Linked DNA regions of Homo sapiens: regions 1, 2, 3, 5, 6 and 7 are each linked to region 4. Evidence: promoter capture Hi-C in 16 types of primary human blood cells and fetal thymus (Javierre and others, 2016). All regions are on one chromosome and are shown on one strand. The core of a region is centred on a gene start or on the middle of the fragment in contact, and the rest is flanking DNA. Distances in the headings are between cores, read along the strand shown.

What was found. The method cuts DNA at HindIII sites, captures the fragments that hold promoters and counts their contacts. A CHiCAGO score of 5 or more calls a contact.
Region 1: the fragment with the promoter of KRT35 here is called in contact with the fragment with the promoter of KRTAP3-1 in region 4 in 8 of 17 cell types (activated CD4 T cells, total CD8 T cells, naive CD4 T cells and 5 more); the score reaches 9.7 in activated CD4 T cells.
Region 2: a fragment that was not itself captured here is called in contact with the fragment with the promoter of KRTAP3-1 in region 4 in 12 of 17 cell types (total CD8 T cells, erythroblasts, megakaryocytes and 9 more); the score reaches 12.7 in total CD8 T cells.
Region 3: a fragment that was not itself captured here is called in contact with the fragment with the promoter of KRTAP3-1 in region 4 in 12 of 17 cell types (total CD8 T cells, erythroblasts, naive B cells and 9 more); the score reaches 9.6 in total CD8 T cells.
Region 5: the fragment with the promoter of KRT37 here is called in contact with the fragment with the promoter of KRTAP3-1 in region 4 in 6 of 17 cell types (megakaryocytes, naive B cells, M0 macrophages and 3 more); the score reaches 7.9 in megakaryocytes.
Region 6: the fragment with the promoter of KRT34 here is called in contact with the fragment with the promoter of KRTAP3-1 in region 4 in 16 of 17 cell types (naive B cells, M2 macrophages, total B cells and 13 more); the score reaches 11.5 in naive B cells.
Region 7: a fragment that was not itself captured here is called in contact with the fragment with the promoter of KRTAP3-1 in region 4 in 13 of 17 cell types (endothelial precursors, activated CD4 T cells, erythroblasts and 10 more); the score reaches 8.9 in endothelial precursors.

What each region holds. Positions count from the first base shown.
Region 1 is chr17:41,479,752-41,482,451 of GRCh38, reverse strand. It overlaps KRT35 (keratin 35), which reads left to right and starts at 1,301. Exons shown (of 7, transcript NM_002280.6): 1 at 1,301-1,825; 2 at 2,671-2,700. The coding sequence starts at 1,355. The HindIII fragment of the contact is 10,492 bases long and covers 1-1,470 here.
Region 2 is chr17:41,460,808-41,463,507 of GRCh38, reverse strand. It overlaps KRT32 (keratin 32), which reads left to right. Exons shown (of 7, transcript NM_002278.3): 6 at 458-678. Among named protein-coding and RNA genes, the nearest start is that of KRT32, 5.2 kb to the left of the region's middle. The HindIII fragment of the contact is 8,593 bases long and covers 1-2,700 here.
Region 3 is chr17:41,403,035-41,405,734 of GRCh38, reverse strand. The region is part of intron 1 of LOC100505782 (a long non-coding RNA gene); the gene reads right to left. Among named protein-coding and RNA genes, the nearest start is that of KRT31, 6.8 kb to the right of the region's middle. RefSeq lists an enhancer at 846-2,045. The HindIII fragment of the contact is 2,100 bases long and covers 234-2,333 here.
Region 4 is chr17:41,007,725-41,010,424 of GRCh38, reverse strand. It overlaps KRTAP3-1 (keratin associated protein 3-1), which reads left to right and starts at 1,297. Exons shown (of 1, transcript NM_031958.2): 1 at 1,297-1,904. The coding sequence starts at 1,351. The coding sequence ends at 1,647. The HindIII fragment of the contact is 1,175 bases long and covers 935-2,109 here.
Region 5 is chr17:41,423,329-41,426,028 of GRCh38, reverse strand. KRT37 (keratin 37) reads left to right here and starts at 1,444. Exons shown (of 7, transcript NM_003770.5): 1 at 1,444-1,997; 2 at 2,185-2,267. The coding sequence starts at 1,506. The HindIII fragment of the contact is 11,234 bases long and covers 1-2,700 here.
Region 6 is chr17:41,380,860-41,383,559 of GRCh38, reverse strand. It overlaps KRT34 (keratin 34), which reads left to right and starts at 1,254. Exons shown (of 7, transcript NM_001386014.1): 1 at 1,254-1,661; 2 at 1,765-1,847; 3 at 2,348-2,504. The coding sequence starts at 1,314. RefSeq lists an enhancer at 1,062-2,261. The HindIII fragment of the contact is 8,651 bases long and covers 1-2,700 here.
Region 7 is chr17:41,440,580-41,443,296 of GRCh38, reverse strand. It overlaps KRT38 (keratin 38), which reads left to right and starts at 2,314. Exons shown (of 7, transcript NM_006771.4): 1 at 2,314-2,717. The coding sequence starts at 2,376. RefSeq lists an enhancer at 2,158-2,658. The HindIII fragment of the contact is 1,658 bases long and covers 433-2,090 here.

The DNA.
Region 1 (2,700 bases), core at 52-2,551, 470 kb before region 4:
TGCCTTGGGCATTCAGAGCTGGGAGGGCACAGCAGGGCTGGAGCAGGGGCCAGACTTCGGGGGAAGGCCTGGCCAGGACTGGGCCCTTAGAGGCAGTGGGGTGGGCCTGTGGTTTGGAGCTGCAAGGCCTGGGCTTTAGCCTCCCTGGGAAGCCTGTGTGGACCTTGGGTAAGCCATTTTCTACTCTGACCATTGTCTCCTTCTGTAGGAGTCAGCACCTTTCTATCCACGACTGTGTTGGAGGGTGTGTGTGAGGCCTTAAAGAAGATAGCATGCCTTGAACAGTTGTACAGATGCTTTTTCAGCTGTGATCTGGGACAGGCTCCTGAAACAGTCCAAGCCTCCTCTATTTAATGGGCTATTGGTGATGCCAATCTCATGAGTTTGTGTGAGGACTGAATAAGAGAATGCATAGAGACAGATCAGCGTGGGGGCTGGTGGGTACTAAATGCTCAGTGAATGATGGTTGCTACCATCAGCCGGGTTATTGATAGGGCTGTGTGAAAAGAGCTCCAATTCAGGCAGCCAGAAGGAAGGGCTTCTCCATTTCTCAACCAGGGCTGGGGAAGACATGCCCTCCTAGATGTCATCATGGGCAGGTGTCCAATTAACTGATCTCTAGGCATTGTGGCTAGAACTTAGGCTCTACAACCTGCACAGACTTCCTGGCAAGGGAAAGAGTAGGGAAGTGTCCATCAGGGCTCTGCAGTATCTAGGGTGATAAGCTGTCCCATTTTACCGAGGACTGAGGTTTCCCTGGCATATGGAACTTTCGGAACTAAAGCCAGAAAATTCCTGGGGAAACCAAGAAAATTGGTCACCTTAGCCATATTTTCTGGGCCAATTCAAGAGCCTTCTGTGTCTCCCTGGCTGCAAGACCCCTGCCTTCCTGCACCAACCAAGTTTACCCTTCCATCTTCTGGGAGCACCCCAGAGACCTCCTCTACTCCCTCAGGCCAATAAAAGAAGTCAAAGTTGGAGAAAGTCAAGACAGTGGCTGAACTCCCATGCTTGCTTAATGCGGAGGCTGAGGTCTGGGCTCAAATGACAGGTCCCTTTGAAGAACTGACAGGGACTTGGTCTTCCCAGTGATGTGGGGTGGTGGAGATGAGTCTTGACATAGTAATGGGGCTCCTATTTTATGAGACTGGTAAATTTTCACAGGAAACTAAATAACAGGTTAATGAGGGGTTTTAATAGAAAGTGGTGTTAACTTTAATGAGGAGAAAACACTTTGTAAAGGCCAACCAATGCCCACTGGGGCAGAGATATAAATCTGGGGTAAGGAGCTGCTTCTCTGCTTTGGGGTGTCTGGCCTCAGAGACCTATCAATTGCATCTGAGTTGCAGGGGCCATGGCTTCCAAATGCCTCAAGGCCGGCTTCTCTTCTGGGTCTCTCAAGAGCCCAGGAGGGGCCAGTGGGGGCTCCACTCGTGTGTCCGCAATGTACTCCAGCAGCTCTTGCAAGCTTCCAAGTCTCTCCCCTGTGGCCAGAAGTTTCTCTGCCTGCTCAGTGGGTCTGGGCAGAAGCAGCTACAGGGCCACCAGCTGCCTCCCTGCTCTCTGCCTCCCTGCTGGAGGCTTCGCTACCAGCTACAGTGGGGGTGGGGGCTGGTTTGGGGAGGGCATCCTCACTGGCAATGAGAAGGAGACCATGCAATCCCTGAACGACCGCCTGGCCGGCTACCTGGAGAAGGTGCGTCAGCTGGAGCAGGAGAACGCCAGCCTGGAGAGCCGCATCCGTGAGTGGTGTGAGCAGCAGGTCCCCTACATGTGCCCTGACTACCAGTCCTACTTCCGGACCATCGAGGAGCTCCAGAAGAAGGTAAGAGGTTCAGAGTGGCTTTGGATTCCCAGGAACTTTGTGTCACCAGCATTCATTGGTAGTTCTGTTCCCATAGGGCATGTTGGAAGTCACCAAGCATGTTCATCTCTGTGGCCTCATTTGCTCCTCCCAATAACCTTAAGAGGGAGGTATCATTAGCCCATTATACAGTTGAGAACACTGAGATTCAGGCTGGGTAAGCGACCCAGATGGCAGTTACTGGAGCCAGAGCTTGAACATCAGGTCTATGAATGAACTCTGTGACCTTTGGTGGTATTGCCCAATCCTCTGAGTCTTCTGAGTTTTCATTTCCTCTTTTATTTAAAGTCAGGGGATTGGGTTTGATGTATTTAGTGCAGTGCAGTTCAGGCTTCCCATAAGTAACTCAGGGAAGAAAATGCCTGTCAGAGAAGTTTCTTTCTTGCCAAGGGCCCATATCCACTTCTCGCCTGGCCCAAAGTTATAGCTGGCTCCTGTGAGGGACCATTTATGACCAGAGAATCCCGGGGTATGTTGTTGGCAATGAAATGCCCTGGGCCCCCAGTAGGCCTGGGAGACAGGGAGATTGGAAGAAGCCTCATTTCATCATGCCAGGCCTTTCCTGTTGCATTTTCATGCAGCTATCTAACCTGAGTAACAGGTCACAGATACACTGCACTGGAAGAAACCCTGGACTTTCCATAGTTGATCCCTAGAGCCTGCCCATAACACTCCAATGCACATGGAGTAGCAGAGGTCTAGGATGGGTGACTTCCTCCTTCCAGAGTCAGCCCTTGTCAGCTTTAGGGAGCTCCAACAAGTGGAATGTCCTTTCTTGCAATGAAATAACTTCTTCATATCTCCAGACTCTATGCAGCAAGGCTGAGAATGCCAGG
Region 2 (2,700 bases), core at 176-2,675, 450 kb before region 4:
GTCTCGAACTCCTGACCTCAGGTGATCCACCTGCCTTGGCCTCCCAGAGTGCTGGGATTACAGGCATGAGCTACTGTGACCGGCCAGCCATGGGTATTTTTTGAGGGCTCCCATGTGGCGCTAATGTGCAGCCAGGTTTGAAAACCCCTGTTCTAAATGATGCCGGCAGGGAGGTACTTGGGAAATCTCAGATCCAATCCTGAAGGCAGACAAAGGTTGCAGAAGAAAGGAGGGATTTAGGATCAGATTTACGAACAGAAACTGTGGTTCCATAATGTACCAGCTGTTTACCCTTGAACAAGTCATTTGACCTTTCTGGGCTTCCGTTTCCAAAGTGACTGGTGTAGGGAGGGCTCATTTCCAGCATCAAAGGGAGATTTGGCTCTTCTTGGTTCTTTCTGAAGCAGGCCATGGTAAACAGCTCCCTTCCTCATGGTTATGTCTTCCTTTGCCTTAGAGGGACTCCCTGGAAAACACGCTGACGGAGAGTGAGGCCCGCTACAGCTCCCAGCTGGCCCAGATGCAGTGCATGATCACCAACGTTGAGGCCCAGCTGGCTGAGATCCGGGCTGACCTGGAGCGGCAGAACCAGGAGTACCAGGTGCTGCTGGACGTCCGGGCCCGGCTGGAGGGCGAGATCAACACGTACCGGAGCCTGCTGGAGAACGAGGACTGCAAGTACGCAGGCCCAGCTGAGGCTTAGAGAGACGTGGGCAGGGATTCTGGGAGGTTATAGGAAGCAACTGGATCTACCCTTGAGGGACCATCAGCTTAGAACCCTGTCCTGACTATGGAGCCATTAAGAAGCTGGTATGCTCTGAAGGAAGTCAGGCAGTGGTGTTCATGCTGCCATCCTGAACCAAGCCCCTCGGAGACCATTCTATCTCATTCCAAGCTGGCAAGCTCCTTCTAAGTGCCCACCATGGGGCAGGTGCTATGGAGGACACCAAGATAGAGGAAGACAGGGCATTTGCCCTCCTGTCATTTCCATATGTTTAGGGAGATAGGCAGACAGGTGACTGGAGGTCATGGCCTGTCCAGAGCTTAGGATGAAAAGCAGCTTTATTAATAGTACCTACACAATCCTGCTCCCACCTCTTACCCCAGCCTCACCTCATAGCTCCATTCCTCTCAGAACGGAGATTTTGGCATGTCAGCAGGACAATAGGTAGCCTTGTGTAATTGAGCCCTGGTGGGGAGCAGGACAGGAAAGATCAGCCGGGGCCCATTTATGGAGAACAACACGGGTCATACTGGGAAGGGAGGGCTTTAATTTATAGGTGAGTGGAAATTGTTTTGAGGAGGAAATGAGAGAATTTACTGTGTGTCTTCTCCACTAGATGGTAAACATCTAGAATGCAGAGACATTATAATACAATTTTATTCCCTGTACGTGGCACATAGTAGATGCTCAGTAAATGTCTCTCAAGCTCAAAGCTGTTCTTCAGGAAGATGGCCCTGATAGCAGCAGGAAGAACTGAGTAGAGGGAGGGGAACCAGGCAGGGAAACTGTCCAGGAGGCCCTGGCCACAGCCTAGGTAAGCAATAGGGAGGGCCTGAGTTAGGGCAGCAGAGGCATCAGCTCTAGACACTGTGCAGGTAGAATCAGCAGGACTTGGTGGCTGTCTGAATGCAGGGTACCTCTGGGCCATGGACACCCAGTGGGCTGACGACTGTTGTAGCTGTTTCTTATTCCGCATTTGGCATTGCTTCTCCATCATTCAGAATCTATAACTTCAGGGCAAGTGTTGTGTCAAACATTTGCAAGGACCAGGCCATTAACATGCATGAATGACGTGGGTCATACGGAGATGGTAGAAAAGCAGAAAGCTCTTGCCTTGTCCAATCCAGGCAATGGCATGCCCTCAGGGCCACTTCTACTGTGTGAGAAGCAGGTCCAATATTGCTGATCTTCCAATAGTTCCAGGGAAGCTGAGAATCTGGGTTTTTAAAAATGTTAAATTCTCCTGATTCTTAAGTATTTTCAAAAAATTAAAGAAAATATATAGTGCCAGGCAAATGGAACACATTTCAGGTTGCACATGATCCTCAGGCCTCCCATTGGTTCTCTGAGCTACTGGGTTTCCATCCAGCATCCAGTGTGTTGTTCCTGGTTTTGAGTGCATGCCTGTCAGTCTCTGAGATCATCCTTTTTCCTTTCACCATGTATTAATTCTTCATTCATTTATTGTTTTGTCTGATCCAAATATTCTTATTAGGTGCCTATTCTATGTGAGGTATGCAGGGTGGGCATGGGTCTGTGGCTGCTGGCCTCACTGCTTGGCCGGGGAGACAGACCATAATAGAATGATTACTACTCACGATGAAAGGAGATACATGTACCATGGGGGCTTTGTCTCAGAGAGGTGGGGGAGGCTTCAAGGAGGACGTGAGAGTTGAGTTGAGCTCTTAAACAAGAGAAGAAATGTAGGTGAGTGGAGAGGGAAGAGGGTTCCAGAGATGTACGGCACAGGGCACAAGCCCTGTGGCCTGAGCAGTACAGTCCCTGCAGGAGCTGGAAGAAGGTCAGAGTACCTGCAGCTCCCAGAGCAATGGAGCTATCAGGTGAGGCTGGGGCAAGAGGTGGGAGCAGGATCATGCAGGTCCTATTAAGGAAGCTGCTTTTCTTTATTTTATTTTATTTTACTTTAACTTCTGGGATACATGTGCAGAACGTGCAGGTTTGTTACATAGGTGTAC
Region 3 (2,700 bases), core at 34-2,533, 400 kb before region 4:
AGACAGTAGAACATGAATCAGAAGCCCCAGAACAGGTAACTTAAATTGAGCTTTTAGGATGACATGCCCATTATGAACAAGGCACTGGCTGGGGCTTCGCCGACATTGTGTCACAGGGCACCACATCAGCCCTGCAAAGAAGAAGCAGCTGTTATTATTCTCAGTTGGTTACTGAGTCAAGACTTGAAACCTAGTCTCTTTGAACCAGATCCAAAGCCCGTTCTTTGGAAGCTTTGAGGGGGAAACAAATTAAACATGAGAAGGTTTAGGACAGTGGTTCTTAAAGCGTGGTCCGCCAGCAGGTAGCACTGGCATTACCTGAGAACTTGCTAGACATGCACATTCTTGAGCACCACCCCTGACTTACTGAACCAGCATTCTGCTTTAGCATGACTTGCAGGTGATTCTGATGTTGGTTCAAGTTTGAGAAACACTGGGTTAGGAAGTTTATTTGAGGAATGAGCCCTTGACTAGCTAGACCCTCTACAGAAAGGGCTGGCCTTGCCGTCCTGATATGTCCTCCAGTGAGGAATCCCTCATACCATCAGATCAGGATAGAGCCTTTCTCTTTTACATTGCAAAACTCTGAAAATGTTACATGATAGTTATTTCTATCAGTCTAGAAAGGCCCAAACAAGCTGACCCATCCAACCTCCCCAGTAACCCCCATTGGTGAGTCCTTATGGCAACTGTCTGTCTTGGAATTTGCAGATGGTAGAACATGAATCAAAAGCTCCATATTTTGATAGCCGTGGCTGAGAATCAGCACATCTCCAGAATTCAGCATCACAGCTGGCCAGAGAAGAGAAGCAGTGAGTTCCCTATCCTTGGAGACAAGCAGAGGCTTCAGAATCACTGATGGGGATGTTGAGGGGAACACTTAGGGAACTGATGGGGCTGGTTGAGATGGCTGTAGCCCCCCTAACTCTGTGCGTCCCTGCTTTCTATGTCTTATTGATCAGTGAAACCACAGGCATTGAAGTGGAACCACCAAATCTACTTTAGGAGCTGGTTTTGGTCTTCCCTTTCCCTCTGTGAATTCTCTGAATCACTGTAGTTTGCTGAAAAATTTACAAGTACAGCTGGTTCTGGTTTAATCCAGGTCTTCCTGATACAGCGGTGTGGTGCTGGAGTGACCACAGTCCCGAGCCCCAAGGCTGGAGGGAGCTTAAGTGAGAATCTTGTTGCTCTGCCTCCAACTGCTCTCAAGCCCAGCGTCCTACTTGTTGGTCACTGCTCATGTACATAGGACTGATCTGCTTGAGAGACACTGGGATTTCCAGCATAGGAAGCCCAAGAAGGGTCAGAGGCTGCCACGCCCTCCCCTCCTCTGTTCTTTTTCTCAAGTGGTAAAACTGTTTTGGCACACGTGACACACCCCTTGGGCACCTACCCAAGAGAAGCTCTCAATAATGAAGAGCCATCTCGATTAGTCTTAATTTAGTACCTGACCCAGCTGCCCTCATCTCCTTTGTACTTAAATAGCTCCTTTCATCCAACAAGTTCAAAGCTGTCTAACAAAATAAACCCACTTATTCTTGCACCATGACGGCACAGGCAAGCATTGTCCTTCCCATTTAAGGGAGAGAGAGAGAAGGTGAGTCATTCAGTGGTTAAGGGATTCTGCTGGTGACATAAAGTGAGTCAGTGGGGCCCCAGGGTGATTGACCTGTGTTTCTTAAGTTCACATCCAGTGCTCTCTCATTTCTAATTAAAAGATTAGCTTTGATGAGACAGTACATGTGTGTGTGTGCACGCACATCTGTGTGTTTGTCGTGTGTGAAGAGTTTCCCTGGAAACCACAGAGGTCATCATTACCATCACCATCACCAGAATCATCATCATCATCATCATCAAATCATATAGCTTCACCATCATCATCATTGTCATAGAACCATATATCCATCAAGCTCTTACTATGAGCCAGGCGCTGGTCTAAATTATAGCTACAGTCATATGGGTAAACTCATTTAATCATTACAACAATCCTAGAAAGCCAATGCTATGGTTTTCTCATTTTGCAGACAAGTAGCCAAGACTCAGAGAGGCTAAGTAACATGCCCAAGGTCACACAGCTATTAGGTGGTGAAGCCAGGATTCAGATCCAAGCAGCCTGCCTCCAGCAACTGTGCTCTTAACTACTGTGCTTTACAGAGGCCAAGTCTCAGATTTTGTCAAAAGGATGATAGAATCATAATGACCCCATTGTTTTGATTCCTTTCCTTGAAGGAAATGAGTATGTTTATGTTAGAAGAAACGTTTCTGAGAATTTATGCCACAAAGGGTGGTACAAGGAATAAAAGTCCTTTAGTATCTCACAGGATCTTGAAGCTTGAGGACTCTGGCAATTTTAATAAACTAGGAGTTGACAAAGAAGCTCAACTCACTTCCTGCCATTTTAAAACCACCTTGTCTATTGAGAAAGAGGAGGAGGGAAACAGAATCCCTATAGATGTTCATTGTTTCACCATTTACAAAACACTTGTTAAAGTACTTTGTGTTGTATCCAAATGGAGGCCCCAAACAACCTTGAGAGAGGGGAACAGACATCACAATCCCCATCGTGCAGTGGGAGAAGTACAGGTGTAGGGAGGTGAAATGCCCCCTCTGCACCTCACAGCAGGTGAGGGGCAGCTCCACGCACTCAACCCCAAGTCTTCTCATTTCTTTTTCCCTGCTCTTTCCCTGTTCCCAACTGTG
Region 4 (2,700 bases), core at 48-2,547:
TTAGTGGTTTAGATGAAACTCGGAAATGTCTCTATTCTGGACCACAGAGCCTGGAAGTAAGACAGGGGTGTTCAATGTTTTGGCTTCCCTGGGCCACATTGAAAGAAGAATTGTCTTGGGCCACACATAAAATACACTAACACTAATGACAGCTGATGAGCAAAAAAAGAAAAAAAATCACAAAAAAATCTCATAATGTTTTAAGAAAGTTTATGAATTTGTGTTGTGCTGCATTCAATGCCTTTCTGGGCCACAGGTTGAACAAGCTTGCTGTAAGATGTTGCTAAATCTCCCCAAGTATGTTTCATAAAGCACTGACCTATAGAGCTAATCTCTGAAAACAAACAAAAAGCAGTCCATGGTCAAGTAAGTTTGGAGAAAAATATATGCTATATCTCTGTATTGAAAAGTCATAGAGCATTTTAGCACATTAAAGGCTCCGAGAGGCCCAACAATGAAGAATTCAGCATTTCCCAAACTTACTTACCAGAAAACACTTTCAAGTCCCTTGGAACCAGTGTTCATGGAACTCAGTCTGGTAAATACTGCATCATTTAGCTTCTGAATGGCCCAATACAACCAGCCTTTTGGTTATAAATAATCTCCATTTATAACACAGTTGGATGGAGCTTAAAGGACACCCATCTTTGTCACCCATGAAGGTCTTCATTCCCACCTGCATGTTCTTACCAAGTTATTGTTCAGAGCATATTTGAAAGGAATGCAGAACAAACGATTTGTTATAGCTCTGTTTGAAAGTGCCTCTTTACACAAAACCAAAATCTATTTCTCTATAGATTCTATCCATTCATCTTCATTCAGTTTATTGGAGCCACAAATAATAAATCTAAAATGTTATATCACTTTTTCAGCCTGAGGGCCTAAAGGATCACATAGAACCTGTAGTCACTGGTAGAACAGCAAACAAAAAGCTTACTTGTCCTCTTCATCTGAAAAGTAAACAAAAGAAGTGGGAAACGTTTGCAGATGCCTGGCATACCGAGCCATTATTAGTGAGGGTATAATGATTAGAAGATAATGGCCCGGTACCTTTGAAGACTGGAATGAAGATTTCTGTGTAGTGACACACTGGCAATGTGAATAGTCCTAATTTGACAACAAAACAACCTAAATCTCTTTTATGAGGTGAGCAGTGTATCTTAGGTAATAAACACTTAAGTAATTAGGCATTTTTTATGGAAATAACTATAAACTGAAACATGGGGGAAAAACCCTCAGTAATAGGCTGACGCCCAGGGAGATGGGTATATAAGAGCCAGAGCAGAAGAGAGGAGCATCGAGACACCAACAGACTTCTCTCAACTCAACAAAAACCCACCTCCCATTGCCATGTATTGCTGTGCTCTCCGCTCCTGCAGCGTCCCCACCGGCCCTGCCACCACCTTCTGCTCATTTGATAAAAGCTGCCGCTGTGGAGTCTGCCTACCCAGCACCTGCCCACATGAGATCAGCCTCCTTCAGCCCATCTGCTGTGACACCTGCCCCCCACCCTGCTGCAAGCCTGATACCTATGTGCCAACTTGCTGGCTGCTCAACAACTGTCACCCGACTCCCGGACTGAGTGGGATCAACCTGACCACCTATGTTCAGCCTGGCTGTGAGAGTCCCTGTGAGCCCCGCTGTTAACCAGCCGAGTCTGCACAGGTTCCGTGAGGTGGCTGCCCAATGTCCTCTGCACCATCTGGGCTTCAGCACTCACTACTGCCTACATCAAGGCTAAGGCCATCCCAATCCCCGGGGCCAAGTCTTGATGAATCTTCTTAATTATTTGCACATTTGGGTACCATTGGAGACCTCCCTTCTGTCTTTTAGGCTATTTCATCACTCTTTGAGAAATAACCATTTTGACCATTTGTTAATAAACTTTATTCTGGCTTAGCAAATATGACCTTGTGATTATTTATTTTCATGTCTCCCATTAGGGAAAGTGGAATGCCTACCTAAACCTGAACAGTAGGTTATCACACTATCCAAGATTTACCCCAACAGAATAAGAGCTCTCATAGTGGAATTTATCGAAAAAATAGATACTGGTTATTTGTGATAAGTTAAAAAGTAAAAAATGTGGTAGTTCATTTTATAGAAGCTTTTTATTTAACAGATATTTATTTAATAGATATTATTGGAAGACATCCACTGTGCAAGCACTATGCTAGAGTCTAGAGATTAACAGAATGTTTTAAAAATACTTGATTTTAGTTTCCATTGATTCTGACATTGATTTTTCTTTCTTCCTTAATTGACTAAATGAATTGATCACTGTGCTGGTGTGTATAAATAATTTGATTATCCTAGTCCTCACAGTCATCTGAAATTCTGAGCTCAAAATGCAAAGCAATTTTGAGAAGTGTATATATCCATTTCTTCATATATGCTGTCTTCCAAAACAATCCATTTTTAATTAATGTTAGCATTTATCGAGTATTCATTGATTCCTCAAATGGGGCTTACATTGGTTTACATTAGTCATGACTATGATTAGAAGTTTGCTAGTCTAAGTGACATATAATATCATGACATTGAAATATGCTTAAAATATCAGACTACAGTGTAGTATTTTCTATACACCAGAAATAGTCACACAATTCTGAGAGCAAAAACACACAGTTTCTATTAGAACAAAACTACTACGATAACCACTAATTCATGTCCTTATTTATCTTAGAAAAATCTAGGTGC
Region 5 (2,700 bases), core at 195-2,694, 420 kb before region 4:
TATTTTTAGTAGAGACCGGTTTTCTCCATGTTGTTCATGCTGGTCTCGAACTCCTGACCTCAGGTGATCCGCCTGCCTTGGCCTCCCAAAGTACAGGGATTACAGGCGTGAGCCACCGCGCCCGGCCTAGTTTAACTTTTTAAAGTGCATTTTCTTGTTGTCACTGCCATAGTATTTAAATCTTTTCCTTTGCTGGAACACAAAGACCTTCAGTAATTTTCTTTTCACCACAATTTCTCATCCAGTAACTAAGCCCCTTCTTGCCCTCTCCTTAGGCCCAGCACTGACGGGGCAATGACACCGTTGTTCTCACCGGGGGCCATGATGAAGTGAAAAGAGAATGGGCCTAGCAGACATGAGACTGAATCGAGCCTTTGCCAGTTCACTAACTGTCAATCAGAAAATGTGCAAATGTACTTCACTCTAGTTTTCTCATCTGTACATTGAGGCAATGAGTAACCACCTCATAGGTGGTAAGGGTTAGATAGGAAAGAACACAGTAGAATGCCTAGCACACCTAAGTACTCAATCAATGTTAGTTCTGGACCTTTCATTTGAATACTGCTTGAGCTCTGTGCCCAATCTCCCTTTCCTGGATCAAATAAGATTTTTCTTTGTTAGTGATTTCTTTCTAGATACTTCCTTGGCCAGAACTATAGATCCTCTGTCTTTCACTAACTCTTGTTGATCTATGGTTCTCATTCAAGTTTGTGTAGAACATCCAGAGATTTCAGAGGCATTGTTTACTCCTGATGAACAGGGAACATTGCGTGTCCAGGAACCAGCACACTGCCTGAGTTATGGGGGATATTCAGGAAGCATGCTGAACCAATGAATGAATGAACAAATGAATGAATAGCTGATTCTGACTAGTCAACCAAAACTTAATTAGCGCCATTGCTTCCAGATGTTATTGCTTCTCAAGGGAGTATGCAATGTGAAAGAAGAAAGAAAAAAAGGCGCCTCTCAATCGTCAAATATCAGTAGATGCATTGGTTTTATTAACTGATATTTTCTCTTCAAAGGAAAGGCTGATTCAGTCTTGCACAGGCGAAAGATCCAGTGGGTCCCATTGGTTCTCTGTGTCTCCTGCTACACAAATTACTGACGGAAAGATTTGAGCCTTCATTGTGACCACATCCACAGAGACCATAGTCCAGAGAGAGCAATTGGGGCCTGAATCAACTGCTGGTGTTTGTTGAGCAGAAACAGTGAGTCTCTGACTTCCCACCAACAGCTAACCTGATATGGAAGAGCCAAGAGGCATCTCAGATTTGTCAACATTGCTTTAATGAGCTGAGGAACTTCTCATGGTAAACTCAGCAGCTGAGTAACAGGATGATGGCACCACAACAGGTAGATAATCAAGGCAGGAGGTCAAAGCACTGGAGCCAACACCCGCCCAGGATGGGGTATAAAAGGGTTGGGAGGAGAGGAGGCTTCAGTCTCAGTGGCTCAGCCTTCCCAGCTGATCTGAAGCTCCTGTGCAGCCTCAGCCCTACACCATGACCTCCTTCTACAGCACCTCCTCATGCCCTCTGGGTTGCACCATGGCTCCTGGAGCAAGAAATGTCTTTGTCTCTCCTATCGATGTTGGGTGCCAGCCTGTGGCAGAGGCCAATGCTGCCTCCATGTGCCTCTTGGCCAACGTGGCACACGCCAACAGAGTCCGTGTGGGGTCGACTCCCCTGGGCCGCCCCAGCCTCTGTCTGCCCCCAACCAGTCACACTGCTTGTCCCTTGCCAGGGACCTGTCACATTCCCGGCAACATCGGAATCTGTGGGGCCTACGGCAAAAACACCCTGAATGGCCATGAGAAGGAGACCATGAAGTTCCTGAATGACCGCCTGGCCAACTACCTGGAGAAGGTGCGCCAGCTGGAGCAGGAGAATGCAGAGCTGGAGACCACACTCCTCGAGAGGAGCAAGTGCCACGAGTCCACCGTGTGCCCCGACTACCAGTCCTACTTCCGTACAATCGAGGAGCTCCAGCAGAAGGTGAGGTGTGGGATCGCCTGGGCATGCTGGGTCTGAGAAGGCAGAAGCCTTCGCAGGAGGAATCTGCATAAGGTCCAGAGAGCTTTGGGTTCTTGGTTTCTCTTGGACATGAGCGTAAATACCACACATGGAGTGGGAGCTTAGAGTATGGTGCTTTGTGTGTGAACCGTCTTTCCGTTTTCCTCAGATCCTGTGCAGCAAGGCTGAGAATGCCAGGCTGATTGTACAAATTGACAACGCGAAGCTGGCTGCTGATGACTTTAGGATCAAGTAAGTCAGGATGAGGAGGGTCAGTGTGACTTCTCTCCTGCTGTATTTCCAAGGGCCCGCCCCATTACTCAGTCTATATTGTAGGTGTTCAAAAACAGTTTTTGACTAGAAGAATATTTCTCTCCACACCTTAAATTAGCCTGTTGCTAGAAATGGTCATTATATAGGAGGAAAGAGAATATAAGCATTGAAAGAAAAAGAAGGGCTGTAGTCTAGATTGGTTAGAACCTATGTCACTTTCTCCCATATCTAGAAGATAAGAGGATTTTGCTTTTCAATCAGAAGTAAAATTGAGTCATCACAAAAATAAACTGTCAATGCATAGGTTGTTGCTAGACTCTCTGACTCTTGGCCAAATCCATCAGCTGGAGGAATTGTCATTGAAGCTCCTTGGTAGCTAGAGTTGTGCTTGAATGAAGGGGAAAAGCAAGAA
Region 6 (2,700 bases), core at 5-2,504, 370 kb before region 4:
CATCTGAACTCTCACTGCTCCAGACTGTTTCCAGCATATTTTTTCTTCTAGATATTTCTACTCTTGCTCATCTTTAGAGAGGCTGTTGCTTTAGTACAAGTTGGCAAATTTTTTAATTTTAGGGCTTTGTGGACACTATAGTCTCTGTCACAACTACACAACTCTGCCACTGTAGCACAAAAGCAGCCATATACAATAGCTAAACAAATGGGCATGGCTGTGTTCCATTAAAACTTTATTTACTGCCGGACGCATTGGCTCACGCCTGTAATCCCAGCACTTTGGGAGGCCGAGGCGGGCGGATCACGAGTTCAGGAGTTCAAGAGCAGCCTGGCCAACATGGTGAAACCCCATTTCTGCTAAAAACACAAAAATTAGCCGGGTGTGGTGGCGGGCACCTGTAATCCCAGCTACTCGGGGGGCTGAGGCAGATAATTGCTTGAACCCGGGAGGTGGAGGTTGCAGTGAGCCGAGATCGTGCCACTGCACTCCAGCCTGGGCGACAGAGTGAGACTCTGTCTCAAAAAAAAAAAAACAGAAAACAAACAAACAAAAACTTTATTTACAAAAATTCAGCAGGGTAAACTTGACGTGTGGGCTGCCATTTGCAGATGCCCTCTTTTAGGTATACTCCCATCCATTCCATTGGTTTCCATTTTACTTTCTCATTTCTCAACCATGAACATGCCATTGTTTTCAGTTGCTCCATGTGTTGGCAAGTTCCCTAAACCCCAACGAATAGTAAGGCTCAGGATCATTTCGGCGAATACAGGTTGAGTTTCTGCTATAAAAACAAATTGAATGCTGAAACATGGATGAATGTGGGAGGAAAGAGCTACTTGGAAGAGTAACTCTCAAAGCTCTCTCTCAGAGCTCTCTCTCTGGGGAGAAAGAACAGTGGCGGAAACTCCTGGGTGAGGAATCCCTGATTCCCAAACAACTCCACCCCATGTCCCTGGCTGTCCTCCCCTCTGAGTAATGCAGACAGCCTTTTGGGGCTGTGATGATTCTATCTCCTATGAAGCCATCTGATGAAACTCTGATTTCACCAACCACTAGCACCCAGGAAGAGCCTGGTGTGACATAAGCTGAATGGAATAATTTTATGGGTTGAGGGGGGACTCTTTAGAAGCATCTAACTAGCATATTTTGGAGAAAAATTAGCTGAAGCATTAGGAAAGGAAACTATGCTGTATGCCAAGCCCCCACCCACAATTAATGGTATAAAAGGACTGCAGAGGAAGGAGAGACTCAAACCTGCCCACATCCACCTCCAGCAGCTTACCTGCTTTTCCATTACCTGTTCCAGCACCATGTCTTACAGTTGTTGCCTGCCCAGCCTGGGCTGCCGCACCAGCTGCTCCTCCCGGCCCTGCGTGCCCCCCAGCTGCCACGGCTACACCCTGCCTGGGGCCTGCAACATCCCCGCCAATGTGAGCAACTGCAACTGGTTCTGTGAGGGCTCCTTCAATGGCAGCGAGAAGGAGACTATGCAGTTCCTGAACGACCGCCTGGCCAGCTACCTGGAGAAGGTGCGTCAGCTGGAGCGGGACAACGCGGAGCTGGAGAAACTCATCCAGGAGCGGTCCCAGCAGCAGGAGCCCTTGCTGTGCCCCAGCTACCAGTCCTACTTCAAGACCATTGAGGAGCTCCAGCAGAAGGTGAGGGGGTTGGCCATATGGGGGGCCAGCAGCAGCTGGCTCTCTTTGAACAGTAAGACATTTTCAAGTTCAAGTGTACCTCATGAGAGAAATTTCTTTTCAGATTCTGTGTGCCAAGGCTGAGAATGCCAGGCTGGTGGTGAACATTGACAATGCCAAGCTGGCCTCTGACGACTTCAGAAGCAAGTATGTTGAACTTCAAGGTCCCTATGGTTCTTTCATGGCCCTAGGGACCTACTATTGCCTGGAAGAGAGGAGAAAGCCATTTCTCTCTATTTCTCCTCCTAGGGCTGGTTATGTAAAATTAGTTTCAAATAGGGAACTAGACTCATGTGCTGCCTGCTCTTTGGTCTATACTGGTTTTTTTTGGAAGTGTTTCTTAAACCACAAAATTCAGAGATTGAAATGAATTGTTCTTTGGGAATTGATTTGGTGGTATATTAGCTAACAAAACCGAGAACACAGTGAGAGACTTCATCTCATGTGTGCCTGTGGGCTCCTCGTGGTGTTAGGTGAGTCAGGGAACCTCTTCAGCCTATCCATGGACAGCTTGACTGAAGCATATGGAAGAGAAGAGGCAGAAAACTGTAAGTTCAAGAAGATTCAGGCCAATTCTACCCAAACAACACATGAGAGGGGAAGGTGGTTTTCTTTCCTGACTTATCCTCCCACTCCGACACGTGCAGGTACCAGACGGAGCAGTCCCTGAGGCTGTTGGTGGAGTCGGACATCAACAGCATACGCAGGATCCTGGATGAGCTGACCCTCTGCAAGTCTGACCTGGAGTCCCAGGTGGAGTCCCTGAGGGAGGAGCTGATCTGCTTGAAGAAGAACCATGAGGAGGTATGAAACAAATTCACAAAAGCAGGCCTCAGAACTAAGCTACTAGCACTGGGAATCAGGAGAGGATTACTGTCTGGATCCCTGGTCTGGGACCCTTCTCTGAGGAACTCAAGATGTTCTCAGAGAGTGACGGTGCTACATCCATATCAAGGAGTGGAGTGAGCTGCTCATTCTTCAGCGGCTGGGTGAGGGTTAG
Region 7 (2,717 bases), core at 12-2,511, 430 kb before region 4:
CACTCTGTATTCATCACTTCTTGTTACTGAACCTGGCCTCATATTCGGTCACCAGGGGCCACAGGGACTCTTTTTAAAGGGTTGGGAAGGAAGAGAGTCTTAGGATCCCCACCCGCTCCTTCACCTCCTTTGAGAAAATACAAATCAGGGGAACAAAGCGATTTTACAAAGAGCCATGCAACATCAGTATCATTATGCAAAACAGTACAAGGTAGAAGCCCAAGCCAGGACCCAAGCCAGTTGGCAGAGAGGGGTGTCATCTGGACACACAAGGCTTCAGCAGTGATGAGTCATGTATTGTGAATGGACGAAATCGTGGCTTTTAGTCCATGGAATGAATCTGGGCAGAGGATAAAGCCAAAAGATGGGTGCTACTTAGCAAATCAAAGGAAATGACTTTAAAAGCCTGGCTCTCTGATTTATAGAGAAGCTTGTTGCTATGTGATGAGGCGGAGGAGAGTAACAAAAGGGTGTTTGAAGATGTAACATATGCAGATTGCACCCAGTGGCCTCTGGAGGATGGGACAGCCTGCCCTGGTGATGTCTCCCAATGATGTTGTCTGTAAAGGGTTATGGATTGGTGAGCTCTGAATAACCCTTAGGTCAGCGCTCACTACTACTTACTTTCCTGAGAAGCCCAATCTGGACTGAATTCTCAGATTCTGTATTTCTTCTTGATAGAACTCCAATAGCCTGTGTTTCACATATGCACGTCTGATCCCTATAGAGGTGTATGTTCAGCTTTTGTTCAATGCTCAGGGGACTGGCAAAAACTCATTTTCCCAAAATTCTAGTTATAATCACTTTGGATTGTTCCACATTAGGTTTTTCTTAGTCTCAGGGGTCTATGTATCTTCTGTCACAAATTTTGGGAGAAAAGTTTTGGGATCTCAGCAGCCATGTGTCTTGGATCCCTAGTACCAAGAACTATCTGAATGTGGAATGTGTAATATAACCATTTTAGGGACAGGACTTTCCCCTGGCATCTTCTGATTTAGCCCTTGGAGAAACTCTGTTTTATTGTATGAATACCTCCACATCTGTATTTTCTGAGATACAAAGGGAAAAATACACAATGTCAGATTTTTGTTTTACATCTTAATTTCAACTTCTTGCCCGGTTTCTAGGAATTTGAATCCTTCTTAGTTCTAGCAATGACACAGTAGTTATCCTTGGGGTGGAGGATTTGGAGGTGGTCAAGGTGAAGAAACAGTTTCTGGAGTTGAAAGAAGCTGATGTTGAGAATAGGCTTTATACTTTATAGTGAGGTTGATCTTAGAAAACTGTCCTCAATGGCTTGTTTATTTATTTTGTAAAATTAAGAGTACCCACCTCCCAGGTTGGAAGTAAAGATTAAAAGGTATCATTGCTCAATCCCCTAGCTCATAGGGTGAAGGCTCATGACTGACTTTAGAATAAAGGAAGCAAGGTATGAAGAGAGCCCACAGAGGCTCTGATCACTCAATGTCCTTTGACTTTCATGACCAAGTTCTTATTTGAGGTTCAGTAAGATTATTGCTCATTTCTCTTTGTTTATTTCTGGCTTCTTGAGCTTGCCCTTCTTGGTCGAGATAAGCCATGGTTTTTGGAGTCATCCTCATTTTCATGAGCTTCTCAGATACCTTGTTTGAAACATCACGTCTACCCAAGTTACAGTTGTTCCCCAATGGCAGGAACTATTTTGTGCTTAACCAACTATATATCAAGCATCAGCAAGGTGCGTAGCATATGGGACGTAGCCAGGGGATGTGTTTTGAGTGACTGGATTCATCTAAGTCTTGTTGCTCCTCAAAGTGAGTCTGAAAGGCAACCAACTAAAGAAAGAAGAAATGTAGGACTTCTTGATAACCCAAGGCCATAACATCCACCAATTCCAAGACTCAGTTTCTTCCCTGGATAGGGAAGGCTGGTTGAGTCTTAACCCAAGTGAGAACCATTGTCATCACCGGGGTTAGTCCTCCTGCTACACCACTGACCAACAGGAAAGTTTGTGTCTCCAGAGTGGACACATCCATAAAGAGGCCAAACCCAGTCAAGGTCTAAGCATCTGATGGCTATAACTTTGCTTCTTTGAAAGATAATAAAAAGCTTCTGACCTCCCATCAACAGCCAACCTGATTTCAAAGAGCCAAGAGGCCTCAGATTCGTCAACATTCCTTTAACGAGCTGAGAAACTTTTCATGGTAAACTCAGCAGCTGAGTAACAGGATGATGGCACCACAACAGGTAGATAATCAAGGCAGGAGGTCAAAGCATTGGAGCCAACACCCGCCCAGGATGGGGTATAAAAGGGCTGGGAGGAGAGGAGGCTTCAGTCTCAGTGGTTCAGCTTTCCCAGCTGATCTGAAGCTCCTGTGCAGCCTCAGCCCAACACCATGACCTCTTCCTACAGCAGCTCCTCATGCCCTCTGGGTTGCACCATGGCTCCTGGAGCAAGAAATGTCTCTGTCTCTCCCATCGACATTGGGTGCCAGCCTGGGGCAGAGGCCAACATTGCCCCCATGTGCCTTTTGGCCAACGTGGCACATGCCAACCGAGTCCGTGTGGGGTCCACTCCCCTGGGCCGCCCCAGCCTCTGTCTGCCGCCTACCTGCCACACTGCTTGTCCCTTGCCAGGGACCTGCCACATTCCTGGCAACATTGGAATCTGTGGGGCCTATGGTGAAAACACCCTGAATGGCCATGAGAAGGAGACCATGCAGTTCCTGAATGACCGC